Linked DNA regions of Homo sapiens: all the other regions are linked to region 3. Evidence: promoter capture Hi-C in 16 types of primary human blood cells and fetal thymus (Javierre and others, 2016). All regions are on one chromosome and are shown on one strand. Each heading gives the region's core, a stretch centred on a gene start or on the middle of the fragment in contact. The rest is flanking DNA. Distances are from core to core; before and after follow the strand shown. Region 1 overlaps LRRC34 (leucine rich repeat containing 34). Region 2 overlaps LRRIQ4 (leucine rich repeats and IQ motif containing 4). Region 3 holds the start of SKIL (SKI like proto-oncogene). Region 4 overlaps MYNN (myoneurin). Region 5 has its middle 2.5 kb from the start of MECOM. Region 6 overlaps EIF5A2 (eukaryotic translation initiation factor 5A2). Region 7 overlaps LRRC31 (leucine rich repeat containing 31).

Evidence for each region. Contacts are between HindIII fragments. The CHiCAGO score rates a contact against its expected background, and 5 or more counts as called.
Region 1: a contact is called between a fragment that was not itself captured here and the fragment with the promoter of SKIL in region 3, in 2 of 17 cell types (fetal thymus and naive B cells). The highest score is 7.5, in fetal thymus.
Region 2: a fragment that was not itself captured here is called in contact with the fragment with the promoter of SKIL in region 3 in 1 of 17 cell types (total B cells); the score reaches 6.6 in total B cells.
Region 4: a contact is called between a fragment that was not itself captured here and the fragment with the promoter of SKIL in region 3, in 1 of 17 cell types (total CD8 T cells). The highest score is 6.1, in total CD8 T cells.
Region 5: a contact is called between a fragment that was not itself captured here and the fragment with the promoter of SKIL in region 3, in 1 of 17 cell types (total B cells). The highest score is 5.2, in total B cells.
Region 6: a contact is called between a fragment that was not itself captured here and the fragment with the promoter of SKIL in region 3, in 7 of 17 cell types (naive CD8 T cells, activated CD4 T cells, total B cells and 4 more). The highest score is 9.7, in naive CD8 T cells.
Region 7: a contact is called between a fragment that was not itself captured here and the fragment with the promoter of SKIL in region 3, in 2 of 17 cell types (total B cells and naive B cells). The highest score is 6.6, in total B cells.

Annotation. Positions count from the first base shown.
Region 1 is chr3:169,797,410-169,800,109 of GRCh38, reverse strand. The region is part of intron 7 of LRRC34 (leucine rich repeat containing 34); the gene reads left to right. Among named protein-coding and RNA genes, the nearest start is that of LRRIQ4, 14 kb to the left of the region's middle. The HindIII fragment of the contact is 4,437 bases long and covers 1-2,700 here.
Region 2 is chr3:169,824,797-169,827,496 of GRCh38, reverse strand. All of the region lies in intron 2 of LRRIQ4 (leucine rich repeats and IQ motif containing 4), which reads right to left. Among named protein-coding and RNA genes, the nearest start is that of LRRC34, 13 kb to the right of the region's middle. The HindIII fragment of the contact is 924 bases long and covers 863-1,786 here.
Region 3 is chr3:170,356,413-170,359,112 of GRCh38, reverse strand. SKIL (SKI like proto-oncogene) reads right to left here and starts at 1,398. Exons shown (of 7, transcript NM_005414.5): 1 at 1,350-1,398. RefSeq lists silencers at 816-885, 976-1,105, 1,156-1,385, 1,546-2,445. The HindIII fragment of the contact is 9,771 bases long and covers 1-2,700 here.
Region 4 is chr3:169,780,250-169,782,949 of GRCh38, reverse strand. It overlaps MYNN (myoneurin), which reads right to left. Exons shown (of 8, transcript NM_018657.5): 4 at 2,201-2,360; 5 at 307-485. Among named protein-coding and RNA genes, the nearest start is that of MYNN, 8.2 kb to the right of the region's middle. The HindIII fragment of the contact is 3,421 bases long and covers 1-2,700 here.
Region 5 is chr3:169,664,831-169,667,530 of GRCh38, reverse strand. No RefSeq gene overlaps it. Among named protein-coding and RNA genes, the nearest start is that of MECOM, 2.5 kb to the right of the region's middle. RefSeq lists an enhancer at 382-898. The HindIII fragment of the contact is 4,531 bases long and covers 1-2,700 here.
Region 6 is chr3:170,904,589-170,907,288 of GRCh38, reverse strand. EIF5A2 (eukaryotic translation initiation factor 5A2) reads left to right here. Exons shown (of 5, transcript NM_020390.6): 3 at 196-300. Among named protein-coding and RNA genes, the nearest start is that of EIF5A2, 2.7 kb to the left of the region's middle. The HindIII fragment of the contact is 744 bases long and covers 1,047-1,790 here.
Region 7 is chr3:169,841,988-169,844,687 of GRCh38, reverse strand. All of the region lies in intron 8 of LRRC31 (leucine rich repeat containing 31), which reads left to right. Among named protein-coding and RNA genes, the nearest start is that of LRRC31, 27 kb to the left of the region's middle. The HindIII fragment of the contact is 707 bases long and covers 1,063-1,769 here.

The DNA of each region.
Region 1 (2,700 bases), core at 43-2,542, 560 kb after region 3:
TGTTATTATTGGTATAAACAAAAACATATATCTAACTATTAGGAAAAGTAAATGGTCAAAGCACTTTATAAAGTTCAATGTTTAAAATTTAATGTTTGGCCGGGCACGGTGGCTCACGTCTGTAATCCCAGCACTTTGGGAGGCTGAGGCAGGCAGATCACCTGAGGTCAGGAGTTTGAGACCAGCCTGGCCAACATGGCAAAATCCAGTCTCTACTAAAAGTACAAAAATTAGCCAGGCATGGTGGCAGGTGCCTGTAATCCCAGCTACTTGGGAGGCTGAGGCAGGAGAATCGCTTGAACCCAGGAAGCAGAGGTTGCAGTGAGCCGAGATTGCACCACTGCACTCCAGCGTGGGCGACAGAGCGAGACTTCATCTTCATCTCAATCAATCAATCAATCAATCAATCAATCAATGTCAGTGTTTGAATTCTCAACTTTATTTTTCTTTTTTGAGATGAGGTCTCACTCTGTCACCCAGGCTGGAGTGCGGTGGCATGATATCGGCTCACGGCAGCCTCCACCTCCTGGCCTCAAGTGATCCTCCCACCTCAGCTTCCTGAGTGGCTGGGACCACAGGTATGCACCACCATGCCCACCTAAATTTTTTTGTATTTTTGGTAAAGACAGGGTTTTGTCATGTTGCCCAGGCTGGTCTTGAACTCCTGAGCTCAAGCTATCTGCCTGCCTTGGCCTCCCAAAGTGCTGGGATGACAGGCATCAGCTACCATGCCCAGCCAAACTCTGAACTTTTTAAATGATTAAAGCACTTTAGATAATTTAAAATTATCTACTTCATTGTTCCCCCTTAGTATGAATCACTGAGAATTAATGATATTTTTAAAGTAGTATTCTCATATTCAGAAGTGTATTTTACATTCTTTGCCTACATAGATCTCTCCCTTTGAGTTATCGCTGCACTTTTTGGTACCAGAATTTTTGTGGTTTTACATCACGTTGTTTCATGTACGTAAATCCAATCTGTTCAACAAGACACTCAGAATCTTCAAATAGATTCCTATTTTAAAAATACTTAAAAGACTAGCAAAATACAGCTCAAAGTAGGCATGCAGTGAATTGCTTCACTCATGATTCATTCACACCATGAATATTTGAATGCAACCTTAAACAAGACACAATGCTAGCGAGGTGCTAGAGGTATTAAAGTCAAATAAATTACATAGCACTTGTCTTCAGTGAGTTTTCCATCTAGGTGGAGGGAGCTTGACAAGTCTGGAGAGTGATATGCCCGGGGTGCCATGGGGACATAAGGAGGGTAATCAGAATCAAAGCAGGGGAGGTGAGTGTGGTAGGGAGGTTCTCAGATTGAGGACATGACAGGAGATTCGAGGGCTAAATACATTTCTGGATTTTATCTCTGTGGAAATATGTTTATATATAGGAGATCACATTATAAGCATGATCCCTTTTTAAAATATGTTGAGTGGTGTCATTCCTAAATCCACCTGAGGATGCTTATTATTAAAAGCCCAGGCCCCCTTGTTGCTCTCAGCTTGGTGCTTCTGGCAGCCAGCTAGGTGCTAGTCTGTTTTGTTCTTCTCCAGGACAGCCACTACCTTCTCTATCCCCAAGGGTACTATTCTGCTCTTAAATTGCTGTTCCCAAATACAAACCTGCAAATCTATTCCATGTACGGGTTTTACTGTTTTATTACCGTGGAGGAATGGGATAACAAAAAGCTGTTAAGATGTTGGACTTCACCTTTAATGCTCATTGGCATTATCCGGGGAGCTTGAAAAATACTGATGCCAGGTGCCACTCTAGACAAATCAAGTCACAAACTCAGTGAATGGGGCTAAAACCCTTTACTATTTCTGACAATAGTTCCTCCCTTAATTAGGATACTCCTGCTTTCAAGCGTTGTAGCCTAAAACTGCAATCAAGGCCCAAACACAAAAACGTACTGAGTTTGTCCTCTGTGCCTGGCACTAGGAAGAGCAATAGTGGAACCCCCTAAGTGGTTGGTTTGCATTTTTTTACGTTCCTAGACTACATAGCATCCCTTTAGCATGGTTGGCGTGCATTTTTAAAGATCCTAGTCTACATAGCATTCCTTTGGGTGTATCTTTTCAGTGTCAAAGCAATTTCAGCAAATACAGAATTACAGAATATTGAACAATAATAAATGCTTTGTAGGCTGCTTATGGAACACTTATTTTGTGCTAGGTACCTTTTATTAGTTAACTTATTTCTGTGAGGGAAGCATAATTTCAGCTACTTTACTAAAATGGAAACTGAGACTCAGCTAGATGAAAATATTTGCCCAAAGTCATATAGCCAGTAAAAGGTAGAGCTAGTATCTGACAGACTTGATTTTTATAAAGCTCATGTACTTTCTGCTATTGCTATGTGGTTTCATTTAAAGTTTTTTTCAAAGTACCTTTATATATAACAAGAACACATATAGTTATCTGTGTTCATCATCAGCATTTCCAGTGACTAAAAAACTTATTATGTTATACAGCAATCATGCAAGAGTACTTCTTGTCACAAAATACTTTGGGCCATTCATTTGAAAATATGCTTTGATTTTACTAAAAACTTAAAATGCCTGGTATTCAAATCTTCATTGATGCCATGTATCTTTTACCTAGAAGTAGCTAGATTGTGGAACTTAAAAAAAAGTCTTCTGATGATCAGAAAATAAGAATAAAACCTCTTAGGAATTTGAGATGAATAT
Region 2 (2,700 bases), core at 75-2,574, 530 kb after region 3:
TAGCTGGGACTACAGGCGCCCACCACCACGCCCGGCTAATTTTTTGTATTTTTAGTAGAGACGGGGTTTCACCATGTCAGCCAGGATGGTCTCGATCTCCTGACCTCGTGGTCCGCCCGCCTAGGCCTCCCAAAGTGCTGAGATTACAGGCATGAGCCACCGCACCCGGCGAAAAAATCTCATTCTTAAAATATGTGACAATCACCCTATTGACTGTGTTACAGAGATGCCTTATTTTCTCGTAGAAAAAAATCCCAGCTATATAGCTCAACAGCTCCTTAACTCATATGTTCCTTTATCTGGCTTAATTCCTAACTGGGAAATCCTTCCCCACAGTTCCCTGCTTGAGCCCATGGGCATTCTTCCCATCCATTCCCTAGTCAGCCACCCTACTTTCATTCTGGCTAGAGCTCAGCTGAGCCACTCCCACCCCCACCTCTCTATGGATGGGTGGAATAGACAGGTAATTGGTGAATGGGTCACTTACAGTTGGAGAAAAAGAAAGTTCACTGAGGACAACCTATCTGTAAAAGTTTCACATACTTGGAATCTTCCATAATGCATTTTTCTCTTTTTTGTGTAGAGTAAGGACTCATTTTCCTAAAAATGCTGTAACAGTTTTCCAGTTTTATTTATTTACCTATTTATTTTAATTAGATGAAGTCAATCTTTGGAGAAACTGATGTTTAAGCTTTCCTCTTTGGCTATTTCAAAATTCTTCATCAAGCACTTAGATGTCTTCAATACAAAATGCCTGCATTCTGTGCAGTCCAAAACAATGAAAAAAGATTTTTCAATCTAACCATTTTATTATAACCTAGAAATTTCATTCTTATTGCTGTTCACTTAACTCATAAAAGCTTAGCTTTTCTTTTTCAAAGCACATTGAATGTTCAAAAATTTTTTTTAGGAGTATTTAAGATCCAGTAGTTAGTTTCATCATAGTCATAGTAAAGTATAATGAGAAGAAATCTAGATGTATAGAAAATCTGTAGAGCATTAGATGAGGACAATTACTGATGACACTGTAACTGACATATAGCCATTTTGGGATCTGGTACATTGTTTTGGTTTTTTCCTTTTTCTTTTTCTTTTTTTTTTTTTGAGGCGGAGTTTCACTCTTCTTGCCTCGGCTGGACGGCAATGGTACAATCTTGGCTCATTGCAACCTCTGCCTCCTGGGTTCAAGCGATTCTCCTGCCTCAACCTCCCGAGTAGCTGGGATTACAGGTGCCCACTACCATGCCCGGCTAATTTTTGTATTTTTAGTAGAGATGGGGTTTCGCCACGTTGGCCAGGCTGGTCTCAAACTCCTGACCTCAGTTGATCCACTCGCCTCATCCTCCCAAAGTGTTGTGATTACAGGCGTGAGTCACCGCACGTGGCCTGCTTTTCTCCTTTAATAGAAGTATACTCTACAAATAAAATCCATCTAGGTACACATTGAAAATCAGATATTTTTTGCATGCACACAGGCAAGTAGAAGCTACTGGTTAGGCTTTAAGAGCTAGTAACCCATGAGTTGAGTCTTTGGGGAGGGAGAGATAATGAGCTGGCTTAAAGGCCATGTTTCATTGAGGAGAGAAATGCATTGGAAGGTGGTATTAGCATAAGAGGAAATTGAGAAGGGAGGACAAATGCACACACACACACAAAACCCATCAGAATAACTGAAGAGGAAAAAGCACTGGTACACAGAGATTGTCATGTTCAATACAATAATATTTAACATGTCTACATTTCAGTGCAGTTTGACTTGTGCTAAAACTTGGTATTGGATGAAGCTTATTTTTGTTAACAAGCAGTCTGTGTGTGATTTGCTCCTTTGATTTCTTAAAATTTCTCTCAGAAAAGGATTAGGTATTATTCATGGCTCAGTATAATGTGTTATCCCTCCCACATGTACTTTATATTTTAAGTCTTTCACTCCAACTGCAGAATGACTGACTTAGTCCACTAAAAGGAATTTCTTACATCAGCAGTGGAATAGTTCAGGGCCGGGCTCTCACGGAACCTCAAAAATCCTCCAAGGTGAGTTGCTACATCAGTGGAGATTAAGTCCTAGAATCTCGACCTAAATCTACAAGTTACCATCAAAATGTTTACTTCCTGAAAGGCAGCTTTAAAACCCCATAGCAATTTGGGGAAAAAAGTTCTAGAAATAAAAAATCAAATAAAAGATTTTTTTAGCAGCCGGGCACAGTGGCTCACGCCTGTAATCCCAGCACTTTGGGAGGCTGAGGTGGGCAGATCATGAGGTCAGGAGTTTGAGACCAGCCTGGCCAATATGGTGAAACCCTGCCTCTACTAAAAATACATAAATTAGCCGGGCGTGGTGGCAGGCACCTATAGTCCCAGCTACTCGGGAGGCTGAGGAAGGAGAATCGCTTGAACCTGGGAGGTGGAGGTTGCAGTGAGCTGAGATGGCGCCATTGTACTCCAGCCTGGGCAACAGAGCGAGAGCTCATCTCAAAAAAAAAAAAAAAAAGATTTTTAAAAATAAATCCGTAAGGCCCAGGACTTTTATAATTTATAGGGAACACATGAGACTGGTGTCCATGGCCAGGTAAAGCAGACCTATTATTTGATTATAGTTGTTGATTTCCAAATTCCCCTTTTTACTCCCTCTACAGTTGTCTTTTGCTCTTAACAGCTATTTTTTTCTTTTTAAATCAAATATTATAGGCCAGCCATGGTGGC
Region 3 (2,700 bases), core at 149-2,648:
TAGTAGTACCGGGGCTTTCTCAGCTATGCCATTTTAAGGGAGGGAAAAAAATCCATTACTTCATCTCCTATTTAAAAACAAAACAACAGTTTCATCCAAAAAAATCAGATAGGAGTTAACATATCTACCATATGTAACTAAGTTACAATTTTAAGTGGATTAATTCAGCTAGTCCGTGTACACTATTTTTCTGGAATGACTGCAGGCAAAAATTAACTTTCTCTTAAAAAAAGGTTAGCGATTTTACTTAATGGAAGCCAAAAGCTATAGACTCCACGCCTGGGAATCTCCATCCTTCAACAAGACTAATCCGGGACAAAAAGCACAAGGCAGACAAACCTCACAAAGAATGCAAATGGAGGAAGAGGGAAAAAGAAAAGACTCTTTTTCCACTTCCTTCTTGAGAGAAAAGCCAAAAGAAATCCAATAAATAGAAATTTTTGCTTCCCAAACTCTCAGCACTTTACCTTAAAACAGACCCAAAGGATTAAGGACCAATGCCACCAACCATCGTACAGACTTTCGTCCACCACAGGAACACACCTTACTCAACACAGGCCAAGGAAGAGAGCAAGAGGCATGACCTAGAATGGGGGAGCCCCTAAAACCCTGAAGTCCTCCGCCCACTCAAAGCCACCCACCTATCTCTAACCCGGAGAGAGGGAGAACAAGGGACACGGGAAGCCTGGGGGTGGGTGTGCAAGGGGGTGGAGGGAAGTAAAGGGAGGAGTCCCCCCACCCCCACCGGCGAGCCTGGGATAACCCCAAGTGCCCTCCCAACACCGCCCCCCCGCGGGGGCCGCGGGAAGGACTGTGGAAATCCACCCCCCCGCGCACCCTCTCCCTGGGAAGTTCTCGGGTGTCACCTCAGCGCCCCTAATGCTGCACCTCCCCGCGCCAGCCCCGGGCCAGAACGAAGAGGACACCAGGGCAGTTTAGGCGCCGGGCGCGGATCCCTGCGCCGCCGGGGGCTGACGGACCGGGTCGAGACCAGGGCATCCCCGCGGAGCGCTGCTGGACTGGGGGAGGGGGGCGGTGACGGGCGTCCGGGTCTCCGGGGTCCCCGCGGCTCCCGTCAACTACAGCGCCCTGCCCTGCCGGCGCCCACCGCCTGGGGCCAACGAAGCGTGATCAGCCGTGGAACACCCGCCTAGCGACCCCCTCTGGCCCCGACCCCACCCGGGACCCGCGCATCCAAACCCCCTACTCGGGCCTCGGTGCCCGGGTAAGCTCGACGAGCTTTGTGAATTCCCCACCGCCCCTGTCGCCGCCGTCGGGCTCCTAGGAGGGTGAGCGCCTCTGGCCTCCCGCCGCCTCCGCCGCGTCGCCGCCGTAAGCCGGAGCCGCACCTGTGCCCGCCGCCGCCGCCGTCGCCGCTCGCCCGCTCCCTTCGGCTGTGCCGGCGCGGCTCCGAACCCCACACACATCGCTACACACAGCCCTCTGACGTCACCGAGTCCTCGGCCCGCCCACGTCACTGCGGAGACACACAGCTTCCCGCAGACGCCGCCGCCGTCTCCGGCCGCCCGGGGGAGAGCGAGGGCGGCGGGGAGGGGGAGGGGAAGGGAACGGAGCCAGCGGCGGCGCCGCGCGCGCGGGCCCGCCGGCGTCGTCGCCGCCGCCGCCACTTCGCGGCTCCCGGCCCCCTCGTGGACGCGCGTGCCGTCTGGCCTATTGTGGCTCCTCAGAGCGCCCCCCTGGCCCCGTCGTCTCGCGCGCGTGCCCCTCCCCCCAGGCGCGCGCCCGGCGCTTCTGGCCCCGCGCGCCGTCTGGGAAGCTGGCGCGCGGCGCTGTCTGCGGTGCACCCGGCGCAGACAGGATGTTCCCTCCCCACCCCACCCTCACCGCCGCCCTCCCTCCTTCCTTCCTCTAGTCGCCCAGCCGGCTGTCTGGGGCCACCGCCCCGCCCCCGCCCCACCCGCCGCTCTGTGGTGATGGGCCAGACGCGGGGGCGCCCTGGCCGCTCGGACGCCGCGCAGCGGGGAAGAGGGGGCAGGGCAGCCGCGCGGTGCACTGTGCGCGACCCCAGCAGCCGGCAGGGCGGAGGCAGTGCCCGCCCGGCAGAGTGCCGCCGCCCGAGGTCAGGCACGGGCGACCCTCCCCCTGCGGGGCCGCAGCTGGGCCGCCCCGCCCCGGAGGCAGCCGGGCGGCGGCCGCCCTGCAGGGCCCCCGGGGCCGGCTCTGCTCCCCGCCCCCGCGGGACCTCCCTCCTGGGCTGCCCCTCGCCCCCGCGGGGCCTCCTGCCCGAGGGCCGCCCAGCCAGCTGCCGGCGCTCCGCCCCGCCCCGGCGGCCCCGGCCTCGCCCGGGCGGCCTCCACCCAGACGCCTTCCCCTGGCTGACCTCCATCCGCCATCGGGCCGGGCGGGAGGGGTGGCCAAAGTTCCGGCAAAACCGAGAGCAAACATTTCTGTCCCTACTCCCCAGCCTCCTGCCTCCACCCCACCAGGCTGCTCTCTCGGTTCCAGAAGGGAGCTATAAATTAAAGGTTTTTACAGTGTTTACTGAGGGTGTTTTTTTGTGTGTGTGTTTTTTTGGAGAGGGACGAGACGAGGTAGGGAAGATAGGACTCAAGAGCTTTCCGGCTGTGACCCTCTGAGGCGTGTAGGGTGGTCTTCCTGGTTCCCAGGGTAGCCGATTAGCATATTGAACTCTGCAGAGCTGCTCCGTCACATTTCGAAACACCAAGAAATCCCCTTTTC
Region 4 (2,700 bases), core at 16-2,515, 580 kb after region 3:
AGGAAGCTGAAAAGGTTTTTATAAAGTCACAAAATGCATCTCAATGCAAGTTTATATAATATCAAAATTATCTCACTGATTTTAATGTGTAAGTTATATAATTTATTTCACCCACCTTGTATTATTCTAGAAAATAAGTCAGCTTTTATATTTAACAAATATGTGCAAAAATCATAAACATAGCTTATAGAAATATAAACAGATATCTAACTACAAAGTTTCCGATCTACTTCGCTAAAAGGCCCAAGTCCCCTTTTTCTTTTATTTATAACTTTATTTTAAGCAGTCTCTCCCTGTCAAACTTACCTGTATGTTTTCGAGAATGAGTGATAAGAGAACTAGAGACAGCAAATGCCTTCCCACAGGTATCACATACATAAGGCTTTTCTCCAGTATGCCTACGGACATGATAGGTCAGTGTGCTGGCTTGAGCAAATCTCTGTCCACACCTATCACAGACATATGGCTTCTCTCCACTATGCTTCCTGTTAGTAAATAAAGTTAAATAAGTAAAACAATTTGGAGGTCAGTCTATATAGCAAGAATTCATAAAGTTTTTTATAGATTTTATTTCATGTCATCTTAACAGGCCAAGACTATGTATTTAAAATCAGTAGTTGTTTCAGTGTAAACACTGCCAAAAACAAATATTTCTTATTATCAAAACATTAGTTCTGAGATCAGTTCAAAAAGTTTTTCCATGATCTTTATATGGTTGTCAGTGGGCCCCTAATACTGCAGGCAATTATTTTCATGAGTCTAGTCACTCTTTGACTTGTGAACTCTCTCCTCAAACCATCAGCATCTCCTTGCCCATTGTAACTCTCAGGTGACATCCCTGCTTCCTATTTCACTGAGAAAAATTCATATGACATGAGGGTGACAGTTCATCTGAATCCATCAATTCCAATTTGTATACTTGAGATCCTACTTAATGATATCACTTCTGCAGTTTCCCCAGTCCTACATCATCCATGTTTCTCACTCCATTGGATTATGGTATACAAATATACTGATGTCTCCCATATTAAAAAAAAACCAAAAACAAAACAAAGACCCTTGACCTTACTTGCTCCTCCATTCTCTGCTCCCCTTTACCAAAACCTTGAGACTCCAAGTGTTCTATCTACTTCCATTTCTTCTCTACTGGCCTCTACTAATGATACTTTTGTCAAGAGCACTGCTGACTTCCCACTTTACTAAATCCACGTCAGTTCTCAGTCTTCATCTCCCTATCACAGAATTTTACAATTGACCACTCCCATCTGGAATAACTTCCTTCACTTGGGATTCCAGGGCAGCCCTCTTTCCTGGTTTTCCTCCTCTACTGGCTGCTCCTTCCTAGTTACCTCTGCTGGTTCTCACCCATCTCTCAGAACTCATAAAGTTAGAGTGCCTCAGGGCCGTCTTTTGATTTCTTCTGTCCACATTCACTCTCTTGGTGACCTTAGCCAGGGTTACAGCTTTAAATACTGTCATATGCTGATGACTGCCAAACGCTAATGATTGCCAAACTGTTATCTTCAGCTCAAACCAGTCCCCTGAACTGCAGACTTAGATAACCAATTATCTATTGCACACCTCTATTCAGAAGTGTTAAGTCATCTCAAATTTAACACACACAGAACTGTACTCGTAAATTCCTGCACTTCCACTTAAACTGTTCTACCCACAAACCTTCTCTATCTCAGTTAATGGCAGCTCCATCTTTATAGGGGTTCAGGCCCAAAACCTCAGAATCATCTTTGACTCTCTTCCAGACTTCACATACAATCTGTTTGCAAATTCTATTATTTCTAACTTTAAAATATATCCAGAATCTACTACTACTTATTTCTTTCACTGCTGCCACCCTGGCCTGAACCACCATCACCCTTGCTTGGGTTTTATCTATAGATTCCTGTTTACCCTGATTCCACTCTTATAATCCTATACCAGTCAGAATGATCCTCTTAAGCTGCATTCTGGACCATTCTGATCTTACTTCTGGACGAGTCTGACCTTATTTCCTAGTAGTCCCCACCCCCTGCTTATTTCCTATCAACCACTGTGGCTTCCTTGTGGTTCCTTGAACGTGTTAACATTGTTTGGTGGAACCACAATTACAATTCTACTGTCCTGAATTCTAATATAATAGTCTATTCATAAGACTATGGTGATTAAAAGACTAAAAGATCAAACAACTCATTTGGTTTTTTACCTTGCATGAATCTTGAGATTGCTAGAAGTTGCAAACTGTAAGTTGCATACATCACATTTATAGGGTTTTTCTTCACCATGATGCATGCGACTATGGAAGACTAGCTGACATTTCTGAGCAAATCCTTTATCACACAATTCACATTTGTATGGCTTCTCACCTAAAGGAACAATAAAATTTATATTTAGAAGAAAATAGTGTTTTGGTTGCATAAGTCATATAAGATTTCATCAACAGTACTAGCTTTGTTATTAAGAAAATGTTAACTGTTGGAACTGAAAACAAATATAATCTTTTCCAGACCACTGAAAACACCAGTAGAATCAAAAGAAATTAGTGTTTCTGAATTCACGAGATAAATACATACAGCATTTTAAAAAGTACGAATCTAGGGCTGGGCTCGGTGGCTCACGCCTATAATCCCAGCACTTTGGAAGGCGGAGGCGGGCGGATCACGAGTTCAGGAGATCGAGACCATCCTGGCTAACATGGTGAAACCC
Region 5 (2,700 bases), core at 83-2,582, 690 kb after region 3:
TTTGGCTAATTGAGCCGGTGGCCGAAAGCTGGAGCCCTGAGACTAAATAAAGAGGACTGTTTCATTTCAACATGAAGAAACCCCTGCCTAGCTCTGGTCACCCAGCGAGAGTTTAATTTCTTAACAGCCAACCTGAAACCCAGCATTGGGTAAACAGTATTAATAATTGCATTACAATGATTAAATTAATCTTGCTGGTAGCCAGGAGAATATAGGTTGTGATTGAATAGCATGATGTAAAGTTCACTGCACAAAGACAATAGGCCTCGAAATACCTCCATAAAGAATTCAAACTTTCTTCCAAAGATACCGTGGGGCCGGTTCAATTAAAATGAGAGGAAAGGAAAACTTCCTGTTGCATGTAATGTATTGAAAATCGGTTATTTGCCATTTCTAACATTAATTTAAAAAATATAGTTGGGGAAGGGATATACTTGTCTGTGTCTTTCTCATCAATGTCCCATTTTCCTTCTAACTTCTATCTCAATCTCTTCACTTCTGCTAAACAAACAAAAACACGAAACAAAAAGTGACAGCAATAAAACAAGCAAACCCAGACAGTCTGTAAACCCATCGACTTTCCAACGAGGCACTGCTTCCAGGATGCTCGCTTCCGTGGGAGAAAACACAAGGAAACGTTGGAATGCATGCTACTGTCCCCCAAGAAAACGAATTTCAGGAGGAGAGGGAAAGGCGAGAGGTGGGGTGGGGGCGGGTAGCTAGGGCAGCTCCGCCAACTTGTTGGAGGCCTCTTTTCTCTTGGGCCAGCGACAGCTCAGACATCCCGTCAGAGGGTGTCGGGAACTCTAGGGGCTGCTGAACAGTCACCTGCTCTGGTCTCACGGCTGGGACTGGGACAGGTGGAAGTGACAGGGTCCAGGCACTTGAGAATGGGAACCGGCCGGGGCGGACGCGCAGAGGTCGCGGCGCTATCAGCCGCGAGCGCGACCGGTTGCTGCTGGGTGTTTGCTCCATCAGGTTAAACACACTTGAACTAGCAACTTAGCTCTTTATTAGCGCACACTTAGGGCAGAAAGCTAATGATAAAGAAAGAAAAAGAAAAGGAGAGAAAAGGAAAAGAAGCCCAGCTTTTAGGTTTGAAAATAAAAAACGAATGATATTGAGAATACTTTTATTTATTTAAAAGACGATGTCTTGTCTTTTCACAATGGCTTGGTCTGGGGACAGAGAAGAGTTTGCGTTTATTATTTGTTAGAAGGGGTTGGATTTTCTCGTGGCCCGAAACTGTTAGAAAGACCAGGGAGAAAGCTGGAGCGCTGAAGCGACAGCGGAGACTTCAAACCAGAAGGGGAGGGGTACTCCAGCCGCGCCTCATTCCGCCTCCCACTCCGCCAACCCCCCTTCTAGAAAAGTTTAAAAGACGGGGACCTTTAAATTTGGAGGTTCGGAGACTCCGATTCACTTCAGTCTTCCACCTCCCACCCAGTTCCCCTCACAGAACCCACCCCCTACCTCCCCAACCCTCCACGTGGTTTATAATTTCTCAGCAGCAACAGCAAGCTCAGCTTCACATGTGGGTCTTGCATTTAATCTCAGAGTTTGGTACCTTGGTCCCCTCCTTTCCTAGGAACATTTCTTGCACCCCTCTTAACCTCCCGTCTCCAAGGGAACCTAGACATAGACAGACCCCCTGGGGATGAGGTGAAAGGGATTAGCCGGAGGAGTGGAGGGGAGGATGGCGGTTCTTTTCTTTTTTCTTTTCTTCTCTTTCTTTTTTTTTTTTAAGCTACCTTGGCGGTTGGGCACCAAGGCAAGGTGCTCAGCCACCCCTGGGGTGCCTGGCAGGGAAGGTGAGGATTGGAGGGACAAGACCTAGATTTTGACAGCTGGGATCTTCAGGTGCTGCTGGTCTGTCCCCTGGCCTAGGGGATGGTCCCTAGAGAGTCTCTTACACCGATCAGAAGCAGCCTTATGAACTTCTTGCCAGTCAGCCTAGTGTTTGTCTCTCCCTAGAGATTTTGTCCCCCCTTCCAAAGCCTCTCAAGACCCATTTCTCCGTTTCCTCGGAGGACATTTGCTGGTCAGAGGGTAGGCACCTCTCCATCTAAACTGAGGGAAGCTGGTGGAGTCACATTTTGGGGGAAGTTTCAGAGTCAAAGACCTGTGTGAACCTAACAGAATGTTGGAATGGCTGGTGCTTTTGCACACACCAAATGTGTTAGCACACTCACCTTTATGCACAGGACAGCGGGAATTCTAGGTCTGGAAAAAAACCCAGGTGCCTCTTTAATTCAGAGTGGATAATAGAGTTCTCTTGTGCCCACGCGTGTGGGCACTAGAGCCTTCTCTTTTGGAAGTTGTTTTACTCCTGTTGTGAGTAATTCCCTCCTTTACCTTCCTACTTCCCTTCCTCACATTTCAACCTTATACATCTGTCTCCCTTGAGACCTGTAGCTTGGTTCTCCAGGGACCTCTATCTTACAGCCAAATGCCCCCAGAATTACACAGCTCTGGATAAAGGAAAATGGTAGGCATCCTTAACAAGGACAAATTCTTTGAACTTTGATTCTCTTGAATAAAGAGATTTGCAGGCCATTGATACCCTTTGGGGTTGAACCTTGTTATTTGCTCTCTCATGTCTGCAGTCCTAGATTTGATAATAAATACCAACAGGTACGACTGGGCATTCTCAATGATTCCCCTTTCCCTCCACAGCCTTTGCCAAACTCATGCCCAGGA
Region 6 (2,700 bases), core at 169-2,668, 550 kb before region 3:
ATGTCGTGATACTGTTTAGTTGTTTACTGCCTCTTAATTGTAAGACCACTACATTTTTTTTTAAGTAAAATTAGATGACCTTGGAAGGAGGAGAAAAAGAATCTGTTGTAATCAGCATTGGTATTGTGCTCTTGTGTGTGTAATGAGTGATATACTTGGCAGAGATTAAACAGGTTTCCTGTTCTCCTCTGTTAGGTTCACCTTGTTGGAATTGATATTTTCACGGGCAAAAAATATGAAGATATTTGTCCTTCTACTCACAACATGGATGTTCCAAATATTAAGAGAAATGATTATCAAGTAAGCACTGATTTTCTTTAGAATGTTGCTTGTTTCTTCAAGGTGCAAATACTTTGTACTATCAGTAATAATTTGACAAAACCCAAGAGTAGTTTTGTAGGTTTTTCTAACCAATTATTAGGCACCAGCTATCTTAGAAATTGGAGAAATAGTGATGTTTAACACATGTACTTTTCTAGGATTATTGCTAGTTTGCTATTTTTTTCACATTCTTGCATTTTTTAAAAAGTCAAATACTTATTAGTGTTCTCAGGCCAAGTGACTGCATATTGCAATTAAGTCCAATGTTTAGTAAAAGTACTATTCTCTCTGTTGTAAAATATTTCTTGTTCTAATTTAAAACATCCCTCCTGGATGTTTTGTTTCTTTTCACTGATCAGACCTGAGACATTCAAGAAACTACTGAAATTCATGTTCCTACCAAGTTTTTGCATTAATGAATGTTAGTCAGAACTTGACATTCTTAAGTAGAGAAATAAGTTGAAAGCCATAAATATAAAGGATAAAGTACCTGGTCACTGAGTATGGTGAAGAAAACACAAAAACTATATAATTGGTTAAATTATACTTAGTGACCATGCTATGACCTTTTGCTAAATTATGTATGTAAATTTCAAGTTTTAGTTCCAGTTATACATTTGGGTAGGTCATATTTAATGATAGCATTTTGTTGTTTGAAGTATTGATGATAACAAAATAATTGACCTTATAGGATGTGGAAGCTCAGATTACTTATAACTAAAGCTTTTCTTGAAAGTCTTCAATTTCTGTATCAAGCATACCATATATCAAACTCATTTCTGCTCATTTTACATAGTGAAAAATACAAAGTTGACACTGGTATTTGTTTTATCCGACTTAAACTGATTTTTTTCTGTACCCTTTGTTGTATTGTATAAATTTCTTTTAATGTTGCTATCAACTGCACTTACGCAATGATTTCCTTTTGCTGTTTGTCCACATGCAAACATACTTTTTTGTGGTTTTAATCTAGTAAACACTTTTATATTTTCACTTTCCTACTTGTCATAAATGTTTTCTAGGTTGCTTTGAAGTCTTTGTAGAAATTTGAATTGTCTTGCAAGTGGGTTTTTTTAACCAGGTAGATCTGGGTTTGGATCTAGTTCTGTCACTTTCTAGTTGGATGATTTTGGACAAGTTATACACCTTTCTGAGCCTGTTTTCTCATCTACAAAATAGTGATAATAGGAGGATTAAATGAGAAAATGTACCCCATTAAGAACTCCATAAGTAGATACGTACCAAAAAGTGCTGTTCTGTTTCCCCCTTTTCCTATGTAAAAATTCTACTTAATCATTTCATTATTGTTGGAGCACCAACTTTGATGTGGTACATAGTAGGTGCTCGAAAAATATTTGTTAAATGTATATGTGATTACTGAATGTGGTAGAGATAGTACAGCAGGCTAAAGTTGAGCGTAGAATGTTGTCAAAATTGGGTTTCTCTTTTCGTCTTAAAGTATGAAAGCTTTGACTATTCAATATTAATTATATTCAGTAATATTCATTCAATATAGAATGCTTTTGCCTGTTGCATGTTTCAGAAAGATGGTATCAGCAGTTCAGATAATTACTATTATACTATGATAAGGTTAGCCAGTCATTGATTGGAGCTCAAGACTTAAAGGAAAAATTTGGTTTGGGTCCTAGACTAGGATGAGGCAAATGAAGTGAGGGAGGCTCTTGCCTCAGGCACAAAATTTTAAATAAAGACAGAACTAGTAACAATGACAAGCCATATAGGAGCTCAAGGCGCAAAGAAAATTAATTCTGATCCCATCTTTATTTAGAATTTTGGTATTTTATCATAGGATTTTTGCATTAATTCTAATTTTTTAAAATATTGCATTAAAATGCCTATCTGATCACTGAGGTTTTTTTGGTGCCTTCTTTAATTTTGCACCCAAGACAAGTGTCTTACTTCACCCTTGTCCCAACCCTTGGTATGTACTCCGCACTGCAAAGTGGATAAGAGGATGATTTAAGCCAGGCAGGCCTGGTCCTAGTCTTACTTTGGCACTTAATAGCTGTGTGACCTTGGTTGACAAGTTACTTAACCTGTTTTGCTTCCATTTCTTTCTTTATAAAGCAGAGACATAAATAATAACGCCTCATGGGATCATTTTGAGGTTTAATTAGTTAATACAACAACGCCTGGCATAGAAAGTATTCAGTATTTCTCTGCTCTTCATTTTCAAGTCAGCATAGAAAAATAACTTATTTCTGTTAATTGTTTAAAAAACTAGTTCTCCAACCTGGGCAATGTGGTGAGACGCCATCTTTACAAAATACAGAAAAAAAAAAATTAGCGAGGCATGGTGGTGTACACAGCTGTAGTCCCAGCAGACCCAGAGGCTGAGGTGGGAGGATCACTTGAGCC
Region 7 (2,700 bases), core at 167-2,666, 510 kb after region 3:
TGCTGGGATTACAGGCGTGAGCCACTGTGCCCGGCCTAGAGACAGATTTATTTCTTTATCTCTGTGTATCTTTTCTTTCTTTTTCTTGGTTATTTAGCTGGCTAGATTTCCAATAGATGTTGAATGAGATGAGAGCATTCTTGCCTTGCTTCCAGTCTTAGTCCCCTAAGCTAAGGGGAAAAGCATTCCATTTTTCACCATTAAGTATGATGTTAGCTATAGGTTTTTTTGTAGCTACCCTTTATCAGGTTAAGGAATCCTAATTTGCTAAGAGTTCTTATAACGAATTTTGTCAAATTATATTTTTCTGCATCTATTGAGATGAGCATTTAAAAAAACTATAGTTCATTAATATTCATAATAATAATGAATGATAATAATTAATAATATTAGCTGATTTTTTAATGTTAAATCAGCCTGGTCATGGTCATTATGTATTATCTTGTTTATATAGCGTTGGATGTTATTTGCTAATATTCTGTTGAGGATATTTGTGCCTATGTTCACAAGGGGATAATAGTCTACTGGTTTTCTTATAATGTCTTTGTCTGGCTTTGTTATGAGGGTATAGGTAGCCTCATACAATGAGTTGGAAAGTGTTCCTTCCTCTTTTATTTTCCAGAAAGATTGTGTAAAATTGGTATTATTTATTGCTCAACTGTTTCACAGAATTCACCACTGAAGCCATCTAAACTTGGAATTTTCTTTGTGGGATATTTTAAATTACGAATTCAATTTAAAAAATAGAGATAGAAAAAAAATAGAGCTAGGACTATTCCAGTTGTCTATTTCTTCTTAAGCAAGTTCTGATAGTGTCTTTTAAGAAATTGGCCCATTTCATCTAGGTTGTTGAATTTATGGAAATAAAGTTGTTTCCTTGTTATCCTTTTACTGCCCATAGTGATACCACCTGTCTCATTCCTGATATTGATAATTTGTGTTTCTATCTCTTTATTCTTGGCTAGTCTGACCAAAGGTATTAGTTTTCTGTTGCTGTGTAACATGTTAATTTGTGGATTAAAACAATATCCATGTATTTGTTCACAGTTCTTTTTAAAAGCTTATATAAATGTGAGGGGCACCAGTGCAGTTTTGTTCCATGCGTATATTGTAGTGGTGAAGTCTGGGGTGCTGATGTAACCATCACCCAAATGAATAATGCATCATTAAGTAATTTCTCATCCCTCACCCGGCTCACAGTTCTGTAGGTAAGAAGTCTGACACAGCTTGTGTCGGTTCTCTGTGTAGGGTATTACAACACTAAAATCAAGGTGTCAGCCTGGCTGAGTTCTCATCTGAAGGCTCTAGGAATAAATCCACTTTCAAGCTCATTCTTGTTGACAGAGTCGAGGACCTTGCAGCTTTAGGACTGAGGGTCCCGTTTTCTTGCTAGCTCTCAGCTGGGGGCTGCTGTCAGCTACTAGAGGCCAGCCACATTCCTTGATACATGGCCCCTCATTTTCAAGACAGGAGTGGATTGTCCGTGCCTCTCACACTTTAAATCTCTCTGACTTCTGTGACTTCCTTCCTCTTCTGCCAGCAGTAGGAGGAAATTCTCTCTGCTTTTAAAGGGCTCATGTGATTAGGTTGACTCCATATGGATAATCTCCCTTTCTTAAAGTCAGGTGTGCCATATAGCCTAAGCTAATTCTGGGAGCAAAATCTACCACATTCAGTCCTGGGGATACAATGGAAATCTTAAGGTGGCTATTTAGAATTCTGACTACTGCAAGGGGTTTATTGATGTTGTGTCTTCTAAAAAATAAGCTTTTGATTTTTATTTATTTATTTCTCTGAATTAGACACCATTAAATATATTTAAGTTATTTTATTTAATGTTTATAATTAAAATTTGCTTCTTCATTTCGGTCTTTTTTATTTTTGTCTGCATCAAATTTTATTCACCATGTCTTCAGCCATTGTATATTTTTTCTTAATTTTTACTGACAGTTTTTTTCTCAGGTCAAATTTATACTTTTACATTTTATCAGGGTATATTTTCCTTCTTTGAATTTTTACTCAATAACAAGTATTACAGGCCAGGCATGGTGGCTCACGCCTGTAATCCCAGCACTTTGAGAGGACAAGGCAGGTGGATCACCTGAGGTCAGGAGTTCGAGACCAGCCTGGCCAACATGGTGAAACCCTGTCTCTACTAAAAGTACACAAATTAGCTGGGCATGGTGGCAGGTGCCTGTAATCCCAGCTACTCGAGAGGCTGAGGCAGGAGGATCACTTGAACCCGGGAGATGGAGGTTGCAGTGAGCTGAGATTGCGCCATTGCACTCCAGCCTGGGCAAGAGAGCAGACTCCATCTCAAAAAAACAAAAACAACAACAGCAACAAAAAACAAGTATTACTATATGTGGTTTTAGCAATTGTCACTTTTATATTTTTTCTAATAGAAACATTAAAAATTTGTTAATCACTAGCTTATATACATTTTAAAAATAATTAATGGCATTTATTTTTTCATACAGTAAACTATAAAGAGTATACCCATGGCCTACATTTCCCCTACCTAGATTTTTTAAAATGTAATAAATCTAAAATAATAAAATATAATAAAATAGGGTGCTCACATTATAAAATCCAAACAAAAAATAAATTTATTTATTTATGTATTTTATTTTATTTTTTTCTGAGAGGGAGTCTTGCTGTGTCACCCAGGCTAGAGTGCAGTGGCACGATCTTGGTTCA